2 separate regions of the Homo sapiens genome follow, and region 1 is linked to region 2. Evidence: promoter capture Hi-C in 16 types of primary human blood cells and fetal thymus (Javierre and others, 2016). All regions are on one chromosome and are shown on one strand. The core of a region is centred on a gene start or on the middle of the fragment in contact, and the rest is flanking DNA. Distances in the headings are between cores, read along the strand shown.

What was found. Contacts are between HindIII fragments. The CHiCAGO score rates a contact against its expected background, and 5 or more counts as called.
Region 1: a contact is called between a fragment that was not itself captured here and the fragment with the promoter of PPP6C in region 2, in 5 of 17 cell types (naive CD4 T cells, fetal thymus, naive CD8 T cells and 2 more). The highest score is 6.2, in naive CD4 T cells.

The regions. Positions count from the first base shown.
Region 1 is chr9:125,263,790-125,267,044 of GRCh38, forward strand. The region is part of intron 1 of GAPVD1 (GTPase activating protein and VPS9 domains 1); the gene reads left to right. It also overlaps the pseudogene RPS10P17. Among named protein-coding and RNA genes, the nearest start is that of GAPVD1, 3.6 kb to the left of the region's middle. The HindIII fragment of the contact is 5,449 bases long and covers 1-3,255 here.
Region 2 is chr9:125,188,348-125,191,490 of GRCh38, forward strand. PPP6C (protein phosphatase 6 catalytic subunit) reads right to left here and starts at 1,456. Exons shown (of 7, transcript NM_002721.5): 1 at 1,297-1,456. The coding sequence starts at 1,371. RefSeq lists enhancers at 778-1,564, 1,565-2,351, 1,654-1,733. The HindIII fragment of the contact is 2,825 bases long and covers 1-2,106 here.

The DNA of each region.
Region 1 (3,255 bases), core at 53-2,552, 75 kb after region 2:
CTGAGGCCTGCCGGTCTCTGGACAGCTATGGCGTAGGGTAGCAGGTACAGTCTCCGGGGGGCAGATGAAGGTAATCCCGGAGATACTGGATACCCTCATTGGTAAGGTACCAGTAGAAATGTCTCCAGGCAAACTGTTCCTTCATGTAGCCTTGAGACTTGAGAGACTGCATGGCCTTCATGACATGAAGGTTGGGCACGTTCTTGTCTGCCAGCTCTGGGTGCTTAGGCATGTGGACATCCTTCTTGGCCACCATGACTCCCTCCTTAAAAAGGAGTTCATAAATGGCAATCTGGTTCTTTAGAAGAACATTTGAATCATTGAAGGCAGACAGGATGACAGTGTAGACGAAAGAGAATTTCATAATCAGGGAGATAAAAAATTTGGATGGGATCAGGGTAGTCTTTTGTTTTGTTTTGTTTTGAGACGGAGTCTGGCTCTGTTGCCTAGGCTGGAGTGCAGTGGCATGATCTCCGCTCACTGCGACCTCAGCTTCCTGGGTTCAAGCGATTCTTGTGCCTCAGCTTCCTGAGTAGCTGGGACTACAGACACCAGCCACCACGCCTGGATAATTTTTATATTTTTAGTAGAGGCAAGGTTTCACCATGTTGGTCAGGCTGGTCTCAAAGTCCTGACCTCAGGTGATCTGCCTGCCTCGGACTCCCAAAGTGCTGGGATTACTGATGTGAGCCACCGCGTCCTGCCCAGAGTAGTCATTTTGAAAGAATAGACCATAGATATTTCATTCAGGGTAATGGGGAATGAACAAAATAATCGGAAGAAGAAAGAAAAGTGAATATGTTGGCCTTTAAATTTTTGTATTAAGGCACCTCCCCACTTCCAAGGGATTGCAGCTCTGTAAGCTCTAATGTAAGCCTGAGAAAAGAAATTTTACTGTTTGCTGGTTTTCTTTAAATCATGGAGGTGGATTTTTTTTTTTTTTTTCTGAGATGGAGTCTCAGGCTGTCGCCCAGGCTGGAGTGCAGTGGCGCGATCTCAGCTCACTGCAAGCTCTGCCTACCGGGTTCATGCCATTCTCCTGCCTCAGCCTCCCAGGTAGCTGGGACTACAGGTGCTGCCACCATGCCTGGCTAATTTTTGTATTTTTAGTAGAAACGGGGTTTCACCATGTTGGTCAGGCTGGCCTCGAACCTCCTGACCTTAAGTGATCTGCCCGCCTTGGCCCCCCAGAGTGCTAGGATTATTGGCGTGAGCCACCGCGCCTGGCCATCTTACATTTTTTAAAAGACAAAAAATTATTTCCCAGCACTATGTTGTGCTTTTGTGAGCATTTGGTTTCATATGGGGACTAATCATTCTTAGTACATGCTGCCATATAGGTTTGATTATTCATCATTTTGTATGAGGTAATAAAAGGGAAAGTCTGTAAGTGAAGTTCTTGTTTTGCTGAGGTTCTTTTACCTTTTACTGTGTGATCCTAGGTTGTTTTATTTCTCTTCATTCTTCTTCCTTCTTTCTTCTTCCTTCTTTTTTTTTGAAACAAGGTCTTGCTGCATTGCCCAGGCTGGACTTGAACTCCTGGACTTGAGTGATCCTCCTGCCTCAGCCTTACCAAGTAGCTAGGACTATAGGTCGGCACCACCACACCTGGCATTGTTTCTTTTTCTGTTCTTCTTTCTGAGAGGGAGTCTTACTTGTCTCCCAGGCTGGAGTGCAGTGGTGTAATCTTGGCTCACTGAAACCTCTGCCTCCCGGGTTCCAGCGATTCTCCTGCCTCAGTCTCCCTCCTGGGCTGGGACTACAGGCGGGTGCCACGATGGCTGGCTAATTTTTGTATTTTTTTGTAGAGACGGGGTTTCACCATATTGGCCAGGCTGGTCTTGAACTCCTGACCTCGTGATCTGCCCACCTCGGCCTCCCATAGTGCTGGGATTACAAGTGTGAGCCACCGCGCCCGGCCAAAAAAAAAATTTCATGTCTGACGATATCAAATGTTGGTGAAGATGTGGCAAAAATGGTAATTTTGAAACTACTGGCCAGGCGTGGTAGCTCATGCCTATAATTTTAGCACTTTTGGAGTTTGAGGGCCACTTGAGTCCTTGAACCCGGGAGTTCAAGACCAGCCTGGGCCTCAAAGTGAGACCCCTGTCTCTATTAAAAAAGAAAAAATTTATAAAAAAAAAAAAAAAAAGAAACTGCTACCGGTTACTGTTAGGAGGAGGAAAAAAAAACTGTTGGTTGAGTGTAAACTGGTATAGCTGCTTTTGAAGACAGTATTTGCAGCCCTTAGTAAAGTTGAAGATAGGCGTACTCTATAATTTCACGTCTATAAGGGATTATGAATGGGAGGTAGTGGCAAAGGGGATGATATCTATAATTTTTTTTTTTTTTTTGAGGTGGAGTTTTGCTCTTGTTGCCCAGGCTGGAGTGCAAATGCGCGATCTCGGCTCACTGCAATCTCCGTCTCCCGGGTTCCAGCATTTCTCCTGCCTCAGCTTCCCGAGCAGCTGGGATTATAGGCATGCACCACTATGCCCGGCTAATTTTTATTTTATTTTATTTTATTTTATTTTTTTTTTTTTAGACGGAGTCTCGCTCTGTCGCCCAGGCTGGAGTGCAGTGGCGTGATCTTGGCTCACTGCAAGCTCTGCCTCCCGAGTTCACGCCATTCTCCTGCCTCAGCCTCCCAAGTAGCTGGGACTACAGGCGCCCGCCACCATGCCCAGCTAATTTTTTGTATTTTCAGTAGAGACGGGGTTTCACCATGTTATCCAGGATGGTCTTGATCTCCTGACCTTGTGATCCACCTGCCTCGGCCTCCCAAAGTGCTGGGATTACAGGCGTGAGCCACCGCGCGCAGCCCGTTATCTATAATTTCTTTTGAGGATATCTATACTTTTTTTTTGAGACTAGACACTACTGTGACAACAGCTAATTCTGGGAGGCAGAATATACGTGCTAAATTATTATTTGTATCTTTCCCTATTTTCTGCTGTTCGTTTTGTTTTTTTCTTTTTGTTTGTTTTTTGAGACAGAGTCTTGCTCTGTGGTCCAGGCTGGAGTGCAGTGGCGCCATCTCAAGTCACTGCAACTTCCCCCTCCTGGGTTCAAGAGATTCTCCTGCCTCAGCCTCCTGAGTAACTGGTACTATGGGCACGTGCCACCACACCTGGCTAATTTTTTGTATTTTTAGTGGAGATGGGGTTTCACCATGTTGGCAAGCCTGGTCTTGAACTCCTGTGATCCGCCTGCCTCGGCCTCCCCAAAGGGCTGGGATTACAGGCATGAGCCACT
Region 2 (3,143 bases), core at 206-2,705:
GCACTCCGGCCTGGGCGACAGAGCGAGACTCCGTCTCAAAAAAAAAGAATACACTGAGTCGGTTAAATACTAGCACGAGCTGATAAGCACTGCTAGAAACCTAAGCTCTGATTTCAGCAAATGCATAGAAACACTTTTCAAAGAAGCAGTATACCTAGGCCGGCGCGGTGGCTCACGCCTGTAATACCAGCACTTTGGTAGGCCGAAGCGGGCGGATCACTTGAGGTCAGGAGTTCAAGACCAGCCTGGCCAACATGGCGAAACCCCGTCTCTACTAAAAATACAAAACAGCCGGGCGTCGTGACGGGCGCCTGTAATTCCACCTAGTCGGGAGGCTGAGGCAGGAGAATCGCTTGAACCCGGGAAGTGGAGGTTGCAGTGAGCCAAGATCGCACCGCTGCACTCCAGCCTGGGTGACAGAGTGAGACTCTATCTCAGTTAAAAACAATAATAATAATAATAATAATAATAATTAAAAAGTTTTAAAAAAGAAAAGCAGTATACCAAAGTCATTCCTTTACCCATACATACATTTACTCTTACTTGGACTCAGGAGTAACAAGGAACTCACCTCCTTTAGAAAACGAAGAAAATGAAATACTGAGTTAAGAAGGGGTTAAGGAGAAAGTATTTGTATTTATTGAGAACCAACTACTTTATCCACTTCAGTAAGCTCAACAACATACTCAGAAACGGGATTCACCTCTGAATTAGCAAAACCGACGATCCTAAAAAGCAATTTGGAGGAGTGGCAATGAAGAGGGACGACCTGACGTTCGCTCCCGCCAGTACCAAACCACTCGGGCCCACCGCCTTCCCCTTCCTCAGAGACCTAAACACACTGAGGCCGCGTTCCGGTAGCCGGTGGCATCTCCTGTCAGACGCCGGCCACTCCGCGCTCCTGTCACCTCCGGTGGAGGCGACCCCATCCCGAGGGCACTGCCGCGGGGGCTCGGCTCCGACTGCGGGAGACCCAGGGATGGGGTGGGGAGCCGAGCCTTCTAAATAAAGCTGTTACAGCTGCGGGTCCTGGGGCAGCCCGAAGGCCAGAAGGGGCGACCCTGGGACAGAGGCCGCGACATCCCTCGGGATCCCCACTGAGGCAACCGGGACAGCATTCGACGACTCGGCTCGCGAGACCCTCGGCGTGACGCCGGGTAGGACCGGGTCGACTGGCAATGGGGGAGGCCCTCCACCGCGACTGGACTGGATACCCGGCGGGGGTCCTGGAGAAAGGAAGGGCCGGCCGGCGGGCGCCCCACAGCCGGAAGGGGCGAGCCCGCAAATAGGGCTCACCTTCAGGTCGTTCTCTGGCAGGTACTTGCACAGCCGCGCTATTTCCACATACTTGTCCAGGTCTAGCGGCGCCATTTTAAGAATAACAAGCCGCGGCAACAGCGGCGGCGGCGGCTGTAGCAGCGGCGGCGGCAGCGGCGGAGGCCGAAGCCGGAACTTTCCCTGCGTCACGTCCGGCCCGTGAGTGGCGCCTGCGCAGCGCCGTTAAAGCGCGACCCGTTTCTCCCCGCTACGTCGGTACGCCCGGCGCCCCCTCTGGCTGAACCCCGACTGCAGGCCCCAAGAGAGCCCGCTTCGGTCCACCCCGCGAAACCTGCTGGGACCCGTAGTCGTCTGCCGCGGGGGTGCTGGGATGTGTAGTTTTCTGTTGTGGACAGCCACCCCTCTCTTTTCCTCCCGTTCCTCCAGACTTTCACCTCCCGGCAGCCGGCGAGGCTTTTCCGAGGCAAAACAGCGGAGTAGGTGGTCCTAGCCACTCACTGGTTTGTTTTTCCAACCCTTTTAAGCACTCTCCAGAATATCTTCACTTAACAATTGGGTAAGCCTGGCCGTAGTAACCGTTTGCACCTTTCCAAGTCCCTGTGAAAACCTCGCCTAAGCCTGTGGCAGAGATGTCAGGCCCCAGTCTTCCAGCCTGAAAGGAAGGGAAACGAATATTATTAAAGCATTTCTGATGCTAAATGCGATACAAATGATATTTTTCCTTTTAATCTTCGTAACGATTGATAGGAAAGTGAGGCTAGGAAACTGCAGTTCACCCCAAATCTCACAGGGAACAAAATGGTGGGGTCAAGATTGAAAAATGGCTTAAGCTTAAGCATGCTTCCAGTGAGAATCCCACGAGGGCAGGGAGTTTTTTGCTGTAACTCCAGCACCGAGAACAGTACCTGGTACTAGCATACCTTCAGCGTTCGTTTATCCAACCACTCTTTGCTGAGCAACAAAGATGTGCCAGGTACAGCTCAAGGCGCTTGCAGTACTTCGTGAACAAAATAGACAAAGATCTCTATTCTATCTGTAGCTACAAAAAGTACCAAAATTAGCCTGGCGCGGTAGTGCGTGCTTGTGGTCCCAGCTACTCTGGAGGCTGAGGCAGGAGAACCGCTTGAGTTGGGAGGCGGAGGTTGCAGTGAGCTGAGATCGCGGCACTGCACTCCAGCTTGGGCGACAGAGCGAGATCCTCCTCAAAAATAAATTAGTAAAAGGAGCTGCTGTATGGGACTAGGGGTGGGGGTGCAATGCCTATAGCTAAGAGACCAGTTAAGAGACTGTTATGTAATCCAATAGTAGCAGGCGCTCAATAAATATTTGTTGCTCAAGAGACCCTGGAATTAATCCTCTTGCTCTCTAAAGTATATTTTGTGGACAATTGGCTAACCCTGAATGAGATATCTGGGTGAACTTCTTTGTATTATTCTTGTAACTCCTCTGAAAGTATGAAATTGTTTCAAAGTAAAATTAATTTTTAGAAGTTTGTTGCAGAATGAATGATGCCCACAAGCATTCATTTCTTCATTCATTAAACTAATAGTTACATAGTGCCTATTGGCCAGGCCGCGGTGGCTAATGCCTGTAATCTCAGCACTTTGGGAGGCCAAGGCAGGCAGATCACCTGACGTCAGGAGTTCAAGACCAGCCTGGCCAACATGCCGAAACCCCATCTCTACTAAAAATACAAAATACTGGGGAGGCTGAGGCAGGAGGATCACTTGAATTGCTTGAGGCAGAGGTTGCAGTGAGCTGAGATGGCGCCACTGTACTCCAGCCTGGGCCACAGAGTGAAACTCCATCTCAAAGAGAAAAGAAACCAGAGGTTACACAGTGCTTATGATGTGAATAAAACAGAT